2 separate regions of the Homo sapiens genome follow, and region 1 is linked to region 2. The links are contacts of gene promoters, found by promoter capture Hi-C in human tissues and cell types (Jung and others, 2019). All regions are on one chromosome and are shown on one strand. The core of a region is centred on a gene start or on the middle of the fragment in contact, and the rest is flanking DNA. Distances in the headings are between cores, read along the strand shown. Region 1 overlaps FERMT3 (FERM domain containing kindlin 3). Region 2 holds the start of RASGRP2 (RAS guanyl releasing protein 2).

Region 1 (3,952 bases), core at 276-2,775, 530 kb before region 2:
CCCTGCCTGCAGGGCTGTGACCCGCCCCAAGCACCCATGGGTGAGGTGGGGAGGCTGCAGCAGGACCTAGTCCCCGCTGAGACCCTAGCTCCCCTCAGGCATCCGGCACCCCGAGGAGCTGTCCCTGCTCCGGGCTCCTGAGAAGAAGGAGAAGAAGAAGAAAGAGAAGGAGCCAGAGGAAGAGCTCTATGACTTGAGCAAGGTTGTCTTGGCTGGGGGTGAGTGCAAGTGGGGGTGGGCCTGGGGGGTTGGGGGCAGGGGCCGGCCCGTGAGTCCCAGCCCTGGGGGACAGGCCTGGTTGACTCCCAACCTGCACTCCAGGCGTGGCACCTGCACTGTTCCGGGGGATGCCAGCTCACTTCTCGGACAGCGCCCAGACTGAGGCCTGCTACCACATGCTGAGCCGGCCCCAGCCGCCACCCGACCCCCTCCTGCTCCAGCGTCTGCCACGGCCCAGCTCCCTGTCAGACAAGACCCAGCTCCACAGCAGGTGCACCCAGGAGCCACGCCCCCTGTGTCAGGGCTCCCCCACCCAGGATCCACCCCCTGTCCCGTGTCTGTGCCCACCCCAGATCCACACTTCGTTTCCAGGCCTTTTCTCTGTGTGTGCTTGTCCCCCCAGCCCAGCCCCCCTCCCCACCCCACGGCCGTACCTGGCGCAGCCCTGACTGCTGCTTCTGCCGCGGCCCAGGTGGCTGGACTCGTCGCGGTGTCTCATGCAGCAGGGCATCAAGGCCGGGGACGCACTCTGGCTGCGCTTCAAGTACTACAGCTTCTTCGATTTGGATCCCAAGGTGGGTCGGGGCAGGGAGAAAGCGGGCCTCAGGTCCATGAGATGTGGAGACCTAGGGCCTGGGGTATGGGCTCTGGGATGTTAGTGACTTGTAGTGGCCTGTCCGTCTGCCCGTTTGTCCATCCACACCTTTGTTTACTGACCCCACAAACACCCACTGAAACTCATCTACTCACCTCAGCATCAGGCCAGGTCCTGGGCCCCGGGCAGATGCTGAAGCGGATGAAGACCAGTAAGTCTCAGTGCCTGTTTCCCAGGGAGCTGTCAGGGAGGAAGCTAAGACCCACAGATCCTCATAGACAGTGTGTGTGTGGGTGCCCCTGAGAAGTCTGGGGCTCAGGTGGGAGAGGCCCAAGCCTGGGAGCTCTGGGAAGGCTTCCTGGAGGGGGCACCATTAGGGACTGCAGGACCTGGGGGTGGGTGAGGAAGGAAGCTTTGCAGGGTGGCCCCTCTGTGCCCTGTTCACTCTTCCTCCCTTCCTCCATTGGCAACCAACATGCTCCAGGCAAAATGCTCCATGCAATGTGCTTCGCGCACATCTCAAAAACTTCCCAGAAGTCCACAGGTTGCTCTTTCTACCTGTAGGCCCCACCTCTCTGCCCCCTTTCTCTGCAAAACATCGTAGTTGTCTGAACGCTTGCTCCGCAGAATCCCACTTCTTGCTTCCAAGCTTTCTCTGGGTGCTGTTCGACTCCCTCTCACTCCTTGGCCATGGCTATTCTATATATTTTGACACCATCCACACGTGAGAAGTGCACCTGCTGAGGTGGCCACGTCTCCAGGCTATCTGTTCCCTGGCCATGTCCCACCCGCTTCTTACTTGACCACTTACTTGCAGCATAGACACCACCCCGACCACTCCTCCAGAATATCTTCCTCCTGAAGCCTCCTGTACACTTGCTTGGGGGGTGGCCTCTCCCCAAGCCACTCTGCCAGGCTCTGTGATGTTCCCTCCTCCTCTCCATGGCCTCTCGGTGTTGGTGAGCCCCAGGCTCTGCCCCAGGCTCTGCTCTGGGCCTCTGCTCTCTCCTCTCCTTCTCTCAGTCATCTCCAGTCTTGTGGATTTCAATACCATCTCCACACTCTCTCCCAGCTGATCATCTCCAGCTCAGATGTCTCTCTCCTAAGCTTTATTTATTTATATATTTATTTATTTTTATTTTTTGAGACACAGTCTTGCTCTGTTGTCCAGACTGGAGGGCAGTAGTGTTATCCCGGCTAACTGCAGCCTGGACCTCCCAGGGTCATGTGATCCTTAAGCCTCAGCTCCCCAAGTAGCTGGGACGATAGGCGTGTACTATACCTGGCTAATTTTTTTTTTTTTTTTGACATGGAGTCTTGCTCTGTTGCCCAAGCTAGAGTGCAGTGGTGCAATCTCGGCTCACTGCAACCTCTTCCTCCTGGGTTCAAGCAATTCTCCTGGGATTACAGGTGTGGGCCTGGCTAATTTTTGTATTTTTTTAGTAGAGATGGAGTTTCACCATATTGGTCAGGCTGGTCTCGAACTCCTGACCTCAGGTGATCCACCTGCCTCAGCCTCCCAAAGTGCTGGGGTTATAGGAGTGTATTTTTTTAGTAGAGATGGAGTTTCACCATATTGGTCAGGCTGGTCTCGAACTCCTGACCTCAGGTGATCCACCCGCCTCAGCCTCCCAAATTGCTGGGGTAATAGGAGTGTATTTTTTTAGTAGAGATGGAGTTTCACCATATTGGTCAGGCTGGTCTCGAACTCCTGACCTCAGGTGATCCACCCGCCTCAGCCTCCCAAAGTGCTGGGGTTATAGGAGCGAGCCACTGCGCCTGGCCTAATTTTTTTTTTTTTTTTTTTGAGATGGAGTCTTGCTCTTGTTGCCCAGGCTGGAGTGCAATGACGTGATCTCAGGTCATCACAACCTCCGCCTCCTGGGTTCAAGCAGTTCTCCTGCCTCAGCCTCCCGAGTAGCTGGGATTACAGGCGTTGAGCCACCATGCCCAGCTAATTTTGTATTTTTAGTAGAGATGGACGGGGTTTCTCCATGTTGGTCAGACTGGTCTCGAACTCCTGACCTCAGGTGATTTGCCCACTTTGGCCTCCCAAAGTGCTGGGATTACAGGCGTGAGCCACGGCGTCGGGCCAGCTGTGCCTTTTTATTCTAGTGTTTTCTTCTCTATGACATATTTCCACTTCTTTGTTTTGCCATTTCACACATTATCTATTGACTTTGTAAGAAGGTTTCACTGTCTTACATTCTCTTCCCTGCCCACACAATACACACATTTCCTTGCCTCTTTCTAAGTGAGTAGTGTCTGTAGTCTTTGGTTAAAACAATGTGATATGGCTGTAAATAGTAACACATATAAATAGTGTTCCTAGTTAAGCCACAGAGTAACTATGATTATTTTTTCCCTTTTTGCTCAAATGGTTTTGAAGTTCATAATTGCCTTTTTTTTTTTTTTTTTTGAGATGAGTTTTGCTCTTGTTGCCCAGGCTGGAGTACAATGGCACAATCTCAGCTCACTGCAACCTCCACCTCGCGGATTCAAGCGATCTCCTGCTTCAGCCTCCCAAGTAGCTGGGACTGCAGGCACGCGCCACCATGCCCAGCTAACTGTATTTATTTATCTATTTTTGTTGTTGAGATGGAGTCTCGCTCTTGTTGCCCAGGCTAGAGTGCAATGGTGTGATCTTGGCTCACTGCAACCTCCGCCTCCCGGATTCAAGCGATTCTCCTGCCTCAGCCTCCCTAGTAGCTGGGATTACAGGCGCCCACCACCACGCCTGGCTAATTTTTTGTATTTTTAGTAGAGATGGGGTTTCACCATGTTGGTCAGGCTGGTCTCAAACTCCTGCCCTCAGGCGATCCACCTGCCTCAACCTCCCAATATGCTGGGATTACAGGCGTGAGCCACCATGCCTGGCCTACACTTTTCTTTCTTATTTTTCGGTTCTTTTTCTTTCTGTGTCCTACTCTCCGGAGACCTCTTCAACTTATCTTCTAAAATATCTATTGAATTTTTAATTTCTGTAACTATATTTTTAAGTTCCAAGAGCTCTTGTTTTTTGAGTGTTCTTTTATAGGGTTTTTTTTTTTTTGAGAGGGAGTTTCATTCTTGTTGCCCAGGCTGGAGTGCAATGGCGTGATCTCGGCCCACTGCAACCTCTGCCTCCTGGGTTCACGC
Region 2 (4,121 bases), core at 1,112-3,611:
AAGGAGGGCAAGGCCTCGGCTGGGGACAGAGCCTGGGGACAGGACCGAGTCGCTAGGAGCAAGGAGGGGGCAGAGCCTAGGCCCTAGTTGGAGGCTGGGACGACGCCTGAGCTCTGGGATAAGGAGTGGCCTATACTTAGGAGCGAGGCTCATTCTGCACCTGGGCTGGGCAGAGGGGCTGCGCATGGGCTCCGACGGCGGGGGCCTTGGCAAGGCCGGCGAAGGATATATGTGGAGCAGCTTGGCCGCCAGCTGAGAGGAGGGGATGTACCAGGGGTGCATCATGAGGAACATGCGCACCAGCTGCGGGTCCCGCACCTTCCCGGAGTCATCTGACTCCGAAGGGTCAAAGACAGGTGGCTGAGCTGGGTCCGCAGCTACCATGCCTCATCCTCACCCCGCAACCCGCCAGGTATCGGTCCTTCGGGTGCACGCTCGACCCCGCCCACCTCCTGCTTGCCCAGGACTCCGAGAGCAGGAGGCAAATTAGAGAGGAAAGGTGTGGTGGGCGAGAGATAGGCACGCCCTGAGGACTGGAGGAGGGGAGCGCCCGAGCCGCCCATCGTCCGGAGGGGAACCAGCTGGGGCGGAAGGAGCCTGGGTTCCCCGGGGTCAAGAATCCAGAGGTCATTTCCTGAGCGCTTGGGGGGAAGGGGCACCCCTTCACCAGATAAGCCGCCCCCCATTAGCCGGAAACAGCTCCCAGGCCGGAGATAGCGAGTTCCTCCGGATTCCCCGGGAGACAGATAATGCCCCTCAAGTGTCAGAGTCCGGGACCCGGCCCTCCCTTCGCCGCCGCTGGGGAAGGCTAGAGAAGGGAAACCTCATCTGTCTGAAGGGCGTGCATCTCTCTGCCCTGCGTTGCGGAGGAGGCTTTCGTTAAAGAGACTGCACGCTGCGGAGCAGGGTGGGTCCGGGTCAGGGCTGTGCCCTGGACTGTGCCTGGGAGGCAGGGACCCGGGCTCAGACTCGGGGCTAGGCTCAGGCTCCGTGTGCCCTCCCGAGCCACTCACCGAAGGCTTCGATGCACCCGCGGAGCAGCTCCTCCACCGTGCAGCCCTTGTCCAGGTCCAGGGTGCCTGCCATGGCCGCCGGCGCGGGGTGGGCTGGGCCCAGGCTGCGCTCCGGGAGCCTCCCACCGGGCTCGGACCGAACCCCTGTCCCGGGAGAGGCAGAGCGGGAGTCTGCGGAGTCGCGGGCGGGGGAGCGGCCCCGCGGGCAGAAACGGGGCGGGGCGGGCACGCCCCCTGCTGGACAGGGGCGGAGTTGTCCCCCGCGGCCACTCCCGGGGTTAAACGGTCTGGCCCGGGATGGTGCAACCCGCCAGTTGGGAAACGGACCCGCAGAGAGGCTTCCGGCCCACCCTCGGAGTCGCGGGAAGGCCGAGGGGCTTCACGAGGATGGGGACGAACCAAGATCCCAGGACTGGCTGGCGCCCAGCCCCCCGCAGGGCGCCTTCTCCTCGCGCCCTCTCCCCAGAGGCACCTGCAGCACCCCGCAGCTCGGCTCTGCGCCCCTCCCGCTTCCCTCCCTCCACAGCCTCCCTTCCCCCGCAGGGTTATTTTGGGAACCCAGAGCCTGAGGGGACCTCGGAGGAATTTCTCCCTGGTATGGGAGGTGGGGGGAGAGAACCCAGGCGTCCTGCCCGCCTCGCCCCCTCCCGGGAGCCCAGGAAGGCGAGGCGGGGCTGCGGCAGCCCCCAGGGGGCCTGCCCTAGGGGAGGCGGACTGGATGGGAGAGGAACATTCCTGGGGCGGGGGGAGCCCGCTGCGGCCAGGAGGCGTCAGCGGGAAGCCTGAGCCTGGGAACTGAGCGCTCCCAGGCCACCTCCGCAAAGGTCCCAGGGGTCCCGGCTCAGCTTGTCCACAGGCCCTCTTCCTCCCTATCCCCGGCTCCTGACCCTGGCCCCGGCCCCGCACAGGCGAACTGTGAGCGCGCACGGAGCAGGGTGTCCAGAGGGGGGCGCTCGCGCCAAGGGTGGCCGGTGGGTGCATGACACCATTAGCAACTCCGGTCACTGGCGGGGTCATACGCACCCTGGCAGGGGCAAACACTCCACACCCAAGTTATTCGTCGGAGGCCGGGGACCTAAGTGGAGGTGCAGGCGTCCGCACTTACACGCACCGGGCCACAGGCACCGGCCTCCCATCCTCCGTCTCTCACACACAATGGCACCCACACCCTGTGCACACCTGCACGAAGAAACCCTCAGGCACACATACCCAGCTCGTCCACCCCAGAATGCAAACCCGCGGACGAGGTCGCCTCCTGGACGTGCTGTTCACTTGAGCCAGGCCAGCCTTGAGTCCCGCGGCCACACAGGCGCTGACATCCTCACACGTGTGCACACACGCAAGGCAGTGCCTCTCCACGCATGTACACTCCCACACACATGCACACACCCCCATGGGTGCGCACGCCCATTCCGTCGCCCCCCTCCCATTTGCGGTGCAGGGCCCGCCCTGCGGCCCCAGCTCCCTGACTCCCCTCACTCCCAGATTTTGGCAGAGCCTTGCCCCACGGAAAGGTACCCCGGCCCTACACATACTCACTCCCCCAGGCTGGAGGACAGGGGAGCTCCTGTACGGAGTTCTCAGGCGGACTTTTCCTAAGAGCCACCCAGAGCCGTCCCCGCCTGGCTCTACCGCTTCCTCGTGTGACCTTGAGAATCACTTGGCCTCTGGGAGCCTCAATTTTCTCATCTGCCAAATGGGGGTACGCGGGGGAGGGCCCCGCTGGAAGGTGGCTGGGAAAAGCTGGGTGCACCGTGGAGGTCCTCCGCCCTCCGGGGATCCAGCGCGCCTTAGCTCTCGTGGCCGCTGCCCCCTCTCCCAGACCCGGGCCGCAGACTCCCCACCCGCTCGCCGCCCCCAGCCCGCCCGCGCCGCCCTGGGCGGGGGGGGAGTCGCTGGGGGCCGCGCCCTCCTTCGCCTGGCGCCCCGCCCGCGCTCGCCCACTCACTCTTGGGACCTGCCGCAAGGAGCCCGCACCGGCCTGGCCGACCCCACCTCCGTGCGCTCCCGCCCGCCGGCCTCGCTGCGGCTGCGGCTCCCGCCCGCTCTCCACGCCGCGGCCCCGCTCCCCGCCGCCCCGCCCCCGCCCCCGCGCCAGGCTGCCCCCTCCCCCCTCCGCCCCTGCGCGGAGCTCCGCACCGCCGGCTGCGCCACCCCCACCGGGGGCTCCCTCTCGCCCCGCACGCGGCGGTCCCTGCGGCAGCTTAACCCCTCCCCTGCCGCGCCGCCCGGGAGGCCAGGGCCGCGGGCGGGGGGCTGCGCCACTAGCTGCCCCGAGGGCGGGCGACCGGAGGCCCCGCCGCCCGGGACGCGGAGGGGGGACCGAAACGAAGAGCCCCTCCCCCAACCGCGGACGCCCCAGTGCCCCCCGCCCTGCCTGGGTGTCGGGCGGAGGAAGCCGGGAGGGGCAGGAAGCGGACTGCGGTGGGGAAGGGGCGCCCCGCCCAGCCCCCAGCTCGGGTTCCTGTTTTCGAGACAAACCGTTCCCATGGGGCTAACCCGGCCCGGGACCGGGCGTCTTCCTGCAGGCAGCGGGTGGCACAGGCCTAGTGGAGGTCGGGGGCGTGGGGACAGCTGGTCCTTGAGATAGTCTGGGGGATGGGCTAGGACAAGATGGGAATATTTTGGGGAGAGGGACCTGTGGGGAGCGAGGAATGAAATCGTGGCTATCTGGAGACGCGGCCTTGATGTCTGGGAATGGGGGCGGGGGGCCCAGTTCACACAGGAGGAACGGGGCCCCGGAAGCCTGGCTCCCCACAGGGTCGAATGGAAAGGGGCAGCCGCATGTGGCGGTGGGTTCTCCGCAGCTCGGAGACTGGAGACCTGGATGCCTGGCCAACAGGGAGGAACTTGGGAGGGGCAGCCGCAGGCGGTTGGGGTCCCCACTAGCCGGGCCTAGGAGAGCGGGTAACGGTTTCCGACCATTTGGCTTCAGACACACTCACTGTGAAACCACCGACCCCAAACCTCCCTTCCGAGGCGTGCCCCTCCCAGCCTTGGGGCGGGGGATCCAGGACCGCCCCCGCACCTCAGTCTTGGTAATGTAAGACTTAGAAACAGGACCTTTCTGTTCCTCAGTTTCCCCATAATGAGGGCCTAGACTAGGCG

Evidence for each region. Contacts are between HindIII fragments. The study calls those that stand out against the background at their distance.
Region 1: a fragment that was not itself captured here is called in contact with the fragment with the promoter of RASGRP2 in region 2 in 2 of the 25 tissues and cell types used here (adrenal gland and spleen).

The regions. Positions count from the first base shown.
Region 1 is chr11:64,210,954-64,214,905 of GRCh38, forward strand. FERMT3 (FERM domain containing kindlin 3) reads left to right here. Exons shown (of 15, transcript NM_031471.6): 4 at 99-218; 5 at 322-490; 6 at 692-794. Among named protein-coding and RNA genes, the nearest start is that of FERMT3, 6.2 kb to the left of the region's middle. The HindIII fragment of the contact is 4,882 bases long and covers 1-3,952 here.
Region 2 is chr11:64,741,781-64,745,901 of GRCh38, forward strand. It overlaps RASGRP2 (RAS guanyl releasing protein 2), which reads right to left and starts at 2,362. Exons shown (of 17, transcript NM_001098671.2): 1 at 2,223-2,362; 2 at 1,014-1,157; 3 at 230-332. The coding sequence starts at 1,086. RefSeq lists silencers at 1,029-1,358, 1,669-1,718, 1,879-1,928, 2,919-3,028, 3,279-3,478. The HindIII fragment of the contact is 18,641 bases long and covers 1-4,121 here.